2 separate regions of the Homo sapiens genome follow, and region 2 is linked to region 1. The links are contacts of gene promoters, found by promoter capture Hi-C in blood cells and fetal thymus (Javierre and others, 2016). All regions are on one chromosome and are shown on one strand. Each heading gives the region's core, a stretch centred on a gene start or on the middle of the fragment in contact. The rest is flanking DNA. Distances are from core to core; before and after follow the strand shown. Region 1 holds the start of MIR6879 (microRNA 6879). Region 2 holds the start of GPHA2 (glycoprotein hormone subunit alpha 2).

Region 1 (5,273 bases), core at 203-2,702:
AACAACTATTTTGAGATTTCCTGTAAAAGGAAAGATATAAATGAATAACTAGATGGGGCAGAGAGATCAAGGGCTTTGTTTGCTCTTTTTTTTTTTTTAATCAGACGGGGTCTCGCTGAGTCGCCCAGGCTGGAGTACAGTGGTGTGATCTCGGCTCATTGCAACCTCTGCCTGCCGGGTTCAAGCAATTCTCCTGTCTCAGCCTCCCGAGTAGCTGGGACTATAGGGGCCCGCCACCACGCCTGGCTGATTTTTGTAGTTTTAGTAGAGATGGGGTTTCACCTTGTTGGTCAGGCTGGTTTCGAACTCCTGACCTCAGATGATCCACCCACCTTGGCCTCCCAAAGTGCTGGGATTACAGGTGTGAGCCACCGCGCCCGGCCTATTTGCTCTTTTTAAGGTGGGAGAAAGAACGGCAAGCTCATCAGCCAGTGGGAATGATCAAGAGGGGAAGGAAACATGGATGATGGCTTGGGGGCAGGGGGTCATCAGCGGCTAGGTTCCAGGGGCTAAGGCTGGGCCTCAGGGGAAATGCCCTCCTCACCCCTCTCCTGGGCCTAGGTCATTTGCCCCAGCTCCGATGAGCAGGGAAAGGTGGTCGAGTCCAGGACCCGCCCACCCCACCATGCCCAACTGAGCTGCAGTGTTGGGAAGATAGAGGAGGGTGGTTCCTTCCACAGGTAAGCACACCCATTAATTTGCACTGTGCAGTAGCAGGTCTGGAATATTCCAGAAACAAATGAGGGTGGCTGCCTCCAGATATTTGTTCTTACCTTAGTTCTTCAAAAAGCTTGCTCCTTGTATTTTGGGTCTCAGCTCCAGACACCTCAGAGAGGCCTTCCCCGGCACCTGAGCTGAAAGAGCCTCCTCCGATGGCCCTCTTGGAAAGCCTCTCTGTTGTGTTGATGGCGCTAGCCGGGATCTGGCAGGGCCTTCTTTTCTCATTTGTTTGTACTTTATTGACTGTCTTCCCGCTAGAGTGTAAGCTTCCTAAGGGCAGGGCTTTGTCCTCTAGCACCCAGAAGAGGGTCTGGCACATAGTAGGTGTTCAACAAATTAAGGAGCCTTTGGTCAGTAGAGATGATATTTATAATTTGATACTTTCATATTTATTGTGGGCCGATTATGGTCAGGCATGTGCTCAACTCAGTTTGATACATGGTGGGAAATAATGAGTCCCCTAAGGGGCTCTGCAACAATGTCACCACCTGGCAGAGAACAGGGACTTCTCCTTAACCTGCTGCGCCCCAGTGGCCTGGACAATGCTGGAAAGACAACCATCCTGAAGAAGTTCAATGGGGAGGACATCGACACCATCTCCCCAACGCTGGGCTTCAACATCAAGACCCTGGAGCACCGAGGGTGAGCAGGGGCCCCATGGGAGGGCCAGCCCAGAGCAGGGCAGGGAAGGTGGGAGAGGGGCCCAGCTGACCCTCCTGTCACCCGCTCCTTGCCCAGATTCAAGCTGAACATCTGGGATGTGGGTGGCCAGAAGTCCCTGCGGTCCTACTGGCGGAACTACTTTGAGAGCACCGATGGCCTCATCTGGGTAGTGGACAGCGCAGACCGCCAGCGCATGCAGGACTGCCAGCGGGAGCTCCAGAGCCTGCTGGTGGAGGAGGTGGGCAGCTCCTACCCTTTGTGTACATGTATGGACGTGTGGCTGCCTTCTCAGCAGATGCCCAGAGGGGCCCGTGGCCCCAGAGGGAAACCAGAGGCAGGATCCCTTCCTTCTCTGGGCCCCCACCATGGGAGGCCCATGGTGCCAGAGGCAGGACACATGCTGTGGACTGAGATTGAGTTAACGTCCCTGTGGTGTTACTACGTCACTACCCTGAGCATCAGTTTCTATGCCTTGAAATGGTGATGATGACACCCACATCACTGGGCTTTAGGGAGGATAACCCAAGGCCAGTATGAAGCTTCGAGAGGCCATGGAGCCTGGCTCAAGAGTCTGACTCTTTGCTGTGTGACCTCAGCTGGGGGTGGTGGCACGCACCTATAGTCCTAGCTACTCTGGAGGCTCAGACAGGAGGATCAGTTGAGCCCAGGAGGTTGAGGCTGCAGTGAGCTGTGATCGTGCCACTGCACTCCAGCCTCCTGGGCGACAGAGCAAGACCCTGTCTCAAAAAAAAAAAAAAAGGAAGGGGCCAGGTGCGGTGGCTCACGCCTGTAATCCCAGCACTTTGGGAGGCTGAAGCGGGCGGATCACGAGGTCAGGAGATCGAGACCGTCCTGGCTAACATGGTGAAACCCCGTGTCTACTAAAAATACAAAAAATTAGCCAGGCATGGTGGCGGGCGCCTGTAGTCCCAGCTACTCAGGAGGCTGAGGCAGGAAAATGGCGTGAACCTGGGAGGCGGAGCTTGCAGTGAGCCGAGATTGTGCCACTGCACTCCAGCCTGGGCAACAGAGTGAGACTCCGTCTCAAAAAAAAAAAAGAAGGACACTTGCAAAGATAGTACAGAGGTCAGAGGTCCCCCATATACCCTTTACCTTGCTTCCCCATCTTACCTAACCGTGGCCTGTCCAAACTAATAAATCAACACTGGTGAATTACTATTATCTTAATTACAGATTTTATTTGAATTTCACGTTTTTCCACTAATATACTTTTTGTGTTCCAATGTTTGATTCAGGCTACAAAATTGCATTTAGTTGAAAATGAGGACACTTGTGAGAGTGAAAGGGGGGATTCTGCAGGCAGAGTGGGGACTGTCCTGGGCACACCGCACACATCTCCTATGTGGGTGGAGCAGGTCAGATGAGATCAGGGCCGTCAAATGCTGGTCAAGGCAGGTCAAGGCCCAAGGGTTAGACCCGTCCACCCACATCTCTCCCAATCACAGACACATATGTGGAAACAACTAGAATCAGAGGTGGACAGTGAGGCCTGTCGGGAGTGGAACGGTTAAAGGGCTGTGTGAACCCAGAAGAGGGAGAGTTCACATCCTCTGTGCATGTCTGGTCATCAGATTGGAGCAGTCTAGAACCACGGAGAGCTCAGGGATCATCTTATGCAACACCCCTCCCTGTTCATGGAAGAGGAAGCTGGAGCATGGGGACAGCGGTGTCCCCTGGGTGGTGGTTGGCTGGAACCAGAACCCTGGCCCAGGGCTGCTCCATTCATGTGGGCCAGCCTTGATGGCTACGTCCACAAACTCACTCCTGGGCCTCTCCCACCACCACGGGGCCTCACCTTGATCTTCCAGGTCGATCCTTCACCCCAGATGCTCTGGGCCATTAGAGGAGGGGTCAGGCTGTCCTCTGAGTCCCCACCCCACCCCTCTATCTTTTCTCCCCCAGCGCCTGGCCGGAGCAACCCTCCTCATCTTTGCTAATAAGCAGGACCTGCCTGGAGCACTGTCCTCTAACGCCATCCGCGAGGTGAGTCCAGGCCCCGGGACAGGCTCGCTGAGGGAAAGGGGCATACATTTATTTATTTTAAAAGCATTTATTAAAAATAACCAAAAAGGCTGGGTGCAGTGGCTCACGCCTGTAATACCAGCACTTTGGGAGGCCAAGGCGAGTGGATCACCTGAGGTCAGGAGTTCGAGACCAGCCTGACCAACATGATGAAACCCCGTCTGTACTAAAAATACAAAAATTAGCTGGGTGCAGTGGCGTGCGCCTGTAAGCCCAGCTACTCAGGAGGCTGAGACAGGAGAATCGCTTGAACCCAGGACGTGGAGGTTGCAGTGAGCCAAGATTGCGCCATTGTACTCTAGCCTGTGGGAAAAGAGTGAGACTTCGTCTCAAAAAAAAAAAAAAAAAGAAAGAAGTAAAATAATAATAAGAAAAGCATTTATTAGCCTAGCCCTGCTAGGTGGCAGGACCTATGCAGGGCACTGGGGATCCAGTGATTAATAAGGCATGGGGTGGCCCACAGCCTGGGGAAGGCAGAGCTGCGCATGTGTTGTTCACAGGCTAACGGTAGCCAGCACAAGTCAGTGCTTTCAGTATGCTCTGCTCCTTGCATGGATTAACTCATTTCATTCTCACAACCACCTCATGAGGTGAGAACTATTATTTTACAGATGGTGAAGCAGGCTCACAGAGGTTAGGTAACTTGTCCCAGGTCACACAGCCACTAAATAGACAGGAAGCCTGTGTCTGACCCCAGAGCCCACATTTTAACCATGATTCTAGTGCTCAAGCACCACAGTGAGAAAGAGCAGGGTTAAAATCTTGGCTCTGCCACTTATGAGCTATGTTCCCCTAGGCAGGTTGCTTAACCTCTCTGAACTTTGGTTTCCTCCTTGGTGAAATGGTCGACACAATCCCTGGCTCATGAGGGCTTGAGGAGAATGAGTGAGAGAGGGTGTGTGGGGCTCCTAGCACGATGCCCGGATCCTGGTGGATGCTCAGGAGCCCATGCTGCATTTACATCACTAAGGGGCAGCACTGGCATGGAACTGGACAGAGAGCCCAGGTGCCCCTGGGGTCTGACAAACTCTCCCTGGGACCGGCGGGGCTTCCTGGATGGGATGACATGGAGCAGGGCCTTGAGGAAGGCGTGGAGTTCCTCTGGGCTGGGGAGGGAAGGGGCTGACGGCAGGCAGGGTCTGCAGTCACTGGCCACCACCATCAGCACCTTTGTCCTCCCAGGTCCTGGAGCTGGACTCCATCCGCAGCCACCACTGGTGCATCCAGGGCTGCAGCGCCGTCACCGGGGAGAACCTGCTGCCGGGCATCGACTGGCTCCTGGATGACATTTCCAGCCGCATTTTCACAGCTGACTGAACCACTCCAGATGCCCCCCACCTAGCAGTCCAGGTCCCTCAACCTTCACCAAACACTACCCATGGGGGGTTGGGAGTCAGCCGGCCAAACTAACACTCCCCCTCCTCCACCCCAGCCTGCTGCTGCTACTGCTGCCCGCTGCTGCTCTGTGGCCACCCGGCTCCCATGGCGGGAGGGCTGTGCCCTGGCTGTCTCTCTGGCTCCTGACCTGGCCTTTGGCTACCATACCAAGAAGAGAGGGCTGGGCGGGGAGGAGCTGCTACTGCTGCTACCGAGGCTGTGGGCCTCATCCTTCACTCAGTTGTGAAATAAACCGCTCCTTGCCCCGATTCCTGGCTGAGTCATTTGTTGATTCAACAGCGTTAGAGACCACCTGGGACCCTCAATCTAGCAGGGGACAGAAAGGAATGGATCATTGGAGTCGATGGTGAACTGTGGCTATGTCAAAGGGATGCAGAAAAAGTTATAGAAGCATGGGACACGGTGCAACTGATTCCATCTGCAGGCTTCCTAAAGGAGGTCACATTAAA
Region 2 (5,388 bases), core at 931-3,430, 83 kb before region 1:
CAGGAGCGTCAGGAGTTATGGCAAGGTCTGGAGGAGCTGCGGCTACGCCGGCTACAGGGGACCCAGGGGGCCAAGGAGGCCCCCCTCCAGCGGCTTACACCCCAGGTGGCCGCCAGTGGGGGTCAGAGCTAGACAGCACCTCAGAAGGGGAAAAGCTAAACCCAGAGCTGTCAGTCCCTCTATCCCTTCTCCTGTCCAGGGGCCCAGAGAGAAACACACCTACCCCTGGCCTTGCCAGAGTGGCTTCTGAGGACTCCCTGCCCAGCCCAGCTTTCACTGGGGGGAGACGAGGAGAGGCAATGGTGGTCTTGGCAACAGAATGCTCAGCCCCTCGTGGCAGGACTTGACAAGGGCAAGCTTGACCAGGAAGCTGCCATCAGGGATCTTCCCCTGCCCCGCAAAGCTAGGCTCCAGCTGCAGGCGGGCTCCCACCCTCTGCTCCTGGCCTTGGGCAAGGGCACTCAGCGCCTCGCCTGCCCCTGCCTTGGCCAATGCGAGGTCCTTCCTTATCCCCACCATGGGGTCCATGGTCTATTTATTCTCGCCCAGCTCACCCTCTACACAGACACTGTCCTGGGTGCACACTCCTCCCTTCCCTCGCTGTGTACTTCCTTGTCCCCTTTTTATTTATTGGGCAGGGGGAGGGGGAGGGCACAGGCAAGAAGAGATTCACAGTGTCCTGGGGTAAGGGGGGGTTCACAGTAATCATGGTCTACTCCTCTTTCCGTGGCTGGGGGTAGACTTAATAAAGAGAGAAATTCAAGAACTGCTTGCTTTATTTAGGGGTAAGGGCAAAGAGGGAAGTAAAATGATGAAAGATTGGTTTAGAAGGGCCAGGCAGAGGCAGGGAAGAAGCAGAAACTCCCCTCTTCTCAGGTGACAGTCACAAAATCTTACAAAGGATCAAAGCTGGAACAACCCTCCCCTTATTTAAAAAAATTCCATAGCAAGTAACCATCAGGGCTGGAGCTCCTTCCAGTTTTTGAATCTTGAACACAGGTTTCCCCCACCAGAACGTCAAGCCCTGTGACCCAGGGGAGGAAGGAGGGGAGAGGATGGGCTAGTAGCGAGAGAGGCGACACATGTCACACTGGCAGGCCCTGGCCGTGAAGATCTCGAGCTCCTCCCTCCGGCTCCCCACACACTGCAGCTGTACTTTGACCTGCGGGAGAGGGGAGTCCGTGCTGCAGTCCCCTTTCTCAGGGCTGTCTAGGATCTCCATCTCTCTGGTCTTCCCGCGACCCCAGCGTCCATCCACCGGGCCCGGGCCCTCCTCACCTTCTTCAGGCCACTGATGGTGCAGCACTGAGAGACGGAGGTGATGTTGTGTCGGTAACCACTGGCCACCAGCACAGAGTACCGAGAAGGGAAGGCGCTGGACTCACAGTGGCCCACACAGGCCTGTGCCACGTGGGAGCCCTGGCAGGTGCCTTGGCGGTCACTTCGCACTGTCACATTGAAGGCTAGAAGGAGATAGGCAAGCAGTAGACGGCGCCTCTGCCAAGGTTTGCCTCGCCCCAGCTCCCGTTGCCTGTGCCTCAGTGTGGGGCCCTTTAGGGTGCTGCCTGCCCCACCGTCCACTCAGCTCTTTGCTCCCACCCAGAACCTCCACTGCTCCTAGCCCTCCGGTCCCAGAGGTACTCACGGTGCAAGTGGCAGCCTGGGATGACTGCCTCCTGGCCCCAGGCTTCAGTGACTGCCAGGACCAGCAGATAGAGGACCAGGGTTTGAGGGGACGCCATAGGCATCTGAAACACAGTGGGGAGATGTCTCTACGTGGGTGTGCAGGTGGGATGGCGAGTTCTTTAAATACTGCATTCCAGGTGAGTGAGCCAGGGCTGGCTGGTCTGACAGGTGAGGTGTGCCTGAATGGTGCTGCCTTTTCCCTGTATCTGCCTTTGTGTGTGTGTGTGTGTGTGTATGGGTGTGAGTGTGAGCAGCTGTCTCTGGAAAGGACCTGTGTGTCAGCCCTCTGTGCAGTGATTCTCCCTTCCCTGGAATTTTCTTCGCCATCTGGAGCGCAAACATCTTCCTCCCTCCATCTGCCCCATCTTGGCCTGCAGGGCCCTCGTCCACATTCCCAGACCCTCCCCAGAGCTCCTCCTGCCTCAGCGAGCTCACCACTTCCGAGGCCCAGGAACAGAGCGGCTTGCAGTTTTCCTGTGCCTCCTGCTGGTCTCCAGCTTGGTGCTGGCTCTCCAGGCTTTTATTTGCCAGCATTTTGGAGCCACGCCCTCTTGGAGATCGGCTTTCAAACCAGCCTCCCCTGCCTGAAGCCTCAGAGCGATCCCACCTGGGGGATCTTGCTCTTTGAGGTGCGGTCCTCGGAGAGCAGCTCCTGCTGCTTTCTGCTTCTTTCTGTCCAAAAAGCTACCCACAGCCCAGGCCTCGATAAGTCAGATGTGGAGAGAAGCCTAGGAGCTGGTGGAGTGTGCAGCGTGTGTGCAGCTGACGACACAGGGGTCAAGACTCTTGGCTGAGTTGTGGACACCTGGGTTCTCTTTGCTCTGTGACCTTGGACAGAACATTTCCCTGTTCAGGGCCTGATCACCCCTAACTTTATTATTATTTATTACTATTATTTTGAGAGGGTCTGGCTCTGTCACCTAGGCTGGAGTGTGGTGGTGTTATCTCGGCTCACTGCAACCTCCACCTCCCAGCCTCCCAGACTCAAGCCATCCTCCCCCTTAGCCTCCTGAGTAGCTGGGACCACAGGCACACCACTATGACCAGCTAACTTTTGTATTTTTTTGTAGAGACAGGATTTTGCCATGTTGCCCATGGTGGTCTTGAACTGCTAAGCTCAAGTGATCCGCCTGCTTAGGCCTCCCAAAGTGCTAGAATTACAGGCATGAGACACTGTGCCTGGCCACACCCCTAATTTTAAAACCACTAAACTCAGTCCTGCTTGCCTTTTTCTAACTGCAAAGGAAAGGGATTGGGGAAGGAGATTCTTAGGGACAAGGGAAATTATACCAGTGGAGGTCTCCTGAGATGTGCTTGGTGGCAGGGCCGGGGGTTTGGGGGTTGCTGTCTGTTTCAGAGTTGCATGGCCACGGTATCAGTGGATGATTCGCATCCTGTGCTACAGAGTAACGTTCTGAGCTGGAGTGCTCCCCTAGCCCTGGAATAACAGGGACCTGACTCCTGAAAGGGCCTGAAGTTATCAACCCCAGCAAAGCTGATCTATTTGTCCAACTCTGGTTTTATAGATGAGGCAACTAAGGCTCAAAGAAAGAAAGTTACTAAAAGTCACCCAGCTAGTTAATGTTAGGGCTGATTTCAAATTCAAATCTGCTGTCCATCCATGGTGCTAAACTACACTTGAGCAAGAATGTGGCAAGCTGGAGAAAGACCCCCAGGCAGCAGTGGCCAGAGGGGTTGGGGCAAGGTGGAGAGCCAAAGGAAGCCTGTGGTGATTCTGGGCAGCCCCGCTTTGGGGTCATTGCCTCACTGATCTGCTCAGAAAGAGCAGGGCCAGTCACAGACTGCTAGAGCTAGAAGGCACTTTATAACTCACCAAATCCTACCCCCTCATTTTCTGGATGAGAAAATAAGAGCTCAGCGGAAAACAACTTCCCAAAGCTTCACTGTAAGCTAGTCAGAGTCAGGGCGGGCACTCACAGCTCCAGATTTGGAGCTGTGCTTCTTAGCAGCTTTGTAAAACAGGCCATGTTTGGGACAGTCGAGTAAAGGCTGTAAACGCAATTTGAGAGGAAGTGATGTTACTAATGTCACTAATCCTTAAATTCCCACACCCTACGGTTTCCCCATCAGCCCCCATCCCCTCAAGACCTGGGTCCTTGTTTGCCAGGTCCTCCGCAGCAGTCCACCTCTTCTCTTCTCCCCACCAAGGGTGCAGGCAGCATAGCAACAGGACGCAGCGGGAACTCAGCAGTTCAGCCCCTGCTCTCCCACTCTTGAGGGGCACCCTCTGGCATGTGACAGATGATGGCTTCTGTTTAAAGCATTTGGGTGACAAGGCTCATTACCTTATGAGGTAGCCCATTCTAATATTGGACATCTCTAACAGGTAAAAAGTGACTCCTTTGTTGTGAGCTAAAATGAGTTTCCCTACATTTCCATAGATCATTTTGGTTCTCCACGGCCACATGAGGCTAAAGTGTCTATTACAGATCAGTCCTTTAGTTGAAGGCAGCTCAGGTGGCCAGGCCTTCTCCAGGGGTGCCAACCTGGATTGACTTCCAGTTAATCTGATAAACGAATCTGCATTACTGTCAAACAGTTAAAGGGATAGAGAGGTGGGAAACATTTTGTCTATGGAGAGGCAACCATTTGGGGCCAAACTGGAACTGGGGAAGAGGTCTCTTGGGTGAGCAGGGCTCAGGACAGTGAGTCTTGAAAGACCCCATTCCCTAACCTCTGGCACAAACTCACCTACCCAAAGTGATCCTGTGAATAGTAACCAGGTAGACCTAGGGAAGTTTCATGCATTTTCTCTGTATCTTGAGGGAAGCATTTGTTCTCTTTTACTCTATTCCACTAAATTCAATCAATAACTCTTCATAAATAATTTATTGTCATTAGGATCCTAAGTGCCGAAGACAAAAGGCCTAAACCGGCCCTCAGGACATGAACATTTTAGAAAGTTCCATTCTTAATGTTTTAAATTGGGGGAAAAAATCTATTATAAAGGGGCAAAGGACACGATAAAACCACAGAGGACTCAGCATGGGGACCTCATTCCCCACGACTGAAGTGTCATAAGAAAAGGATAGAGTTGGAGGAAGAATGGCTCGGGAGGAGTCACTACAAGAGATGATCCTCTTTCCAGCGCTGCATTTGGAAGGCTCAAGAGTGGCTGCTCTTCCTGAAGAAATATCGAAACGGGAAGAGAGAGCTGCAAGAATGAGAACAGAGTAGGCTGAGACTCTATGAGGTCTCCTTCCCTTCTCCCCATTTCCCATTAGTGCTTCACTAGCTAGGGCATTTTTGCTCTGGGGAACCATTGAATGGAAATTCAAGACTGAATAGCATTTGAAAAGGTACCCAAATTAGATTATACTCAGGAGGGGGAAATAAAGAAACAGAATTGCAATGGGATGGCAGAGAGAGAGAGAGACAGAGAGAGACATTTGCTAACTGTCCTTTGCAAACACAACCTAGATTCAGAGGGGAGAATGGAAATGTTTGGTAACCAAATCATCTGAATGGCTCAAGTAAACTAAGAATAGACTTTGTTCAAGTTAATGTTTTTGTTTGGTTGGTTTTTTTGAGACAGAGTCTTGCTCTGTTGTCCAGGCTGGAGTGCAATGGCACGATCTCAGCTCACTGCAACCTCTGCCTCCCAGGTTAAAGTGATTCTCCTGCCTCAGCACCCCCAGTAGCTGGGATTACAGAACATTCCACCACATCCGGCTAATTTTA

The links. Contacts are between HindIII fragments. The CHiCAGO score rates a contact against its expected background, and 5 or more counts as called.
Region 2: the fragment with the promoter of GPHA2 here is called in contact with a fragment that was not itself captured in region 1 in 1 of 17 cell types (endothelial precursors); the score reaches 5.5 in endothelial precursors.

What each region holds. Positions count from the first base shown.
Region 1 is chr11:65,017,113-65,022,385 of GRCh38, forward strand. ARL2 (ARF like GTPase 2) reads left to right here. Exons shown (of 5, transcript NM_001667.4): 2 at 1,252-1,362; 3 at 1,459-1,621; 4 at 3,307-3,387; 5 at 4,609-5,072. The coding sequence ends at 4,743. It overlaps ARL2-SNX15 (ARL2-SNX15 readthrough (NMD candidate)), which reads left to right. Exons shown (of 11, transcript NR_037650.2): 2 at 1,252-1,362; 3 at 1,459-1,621. It overlaps MIR6879 (microRNA 6879), which reads left to right and starts at 1,393; the gene lies at 1,393-1,458. The HindIII fragment of the contact is 936 bases long and covers 985-1,920 here.
Region 2 is chr11:64,933,713-64,939,100 of GRCh38, forward strand. It overlaps GPHA2 (glycoprotein hormone subunit alpha 2), which reads right to left and starts at 2,181. Exons shown (of 4, transcript NM_130769.4): 1 at 2,122-2,181; 2 at 1,646-1,748; 3 at 1,279-1,463; 4 at 759-1,162. The coding sequence starts at 1,748. The coding sequence ends at 1,061. It overlaps PPP2R5B (protein phosphatase 2 regulatory subunit B'beta), which reads left to right. Exons shown (of 14, transcript NM_006244.4): 14 at 1-763. The coding sequence ends at 132. MAJIN (membrane anchored junction protein) reads right to left here. Exons shown (of 11, transcript NM_001037225.3): 11 at 4,518-4,861. The HindIII fragment of the contact is 3,228 bases long and covers 356-3,583 here.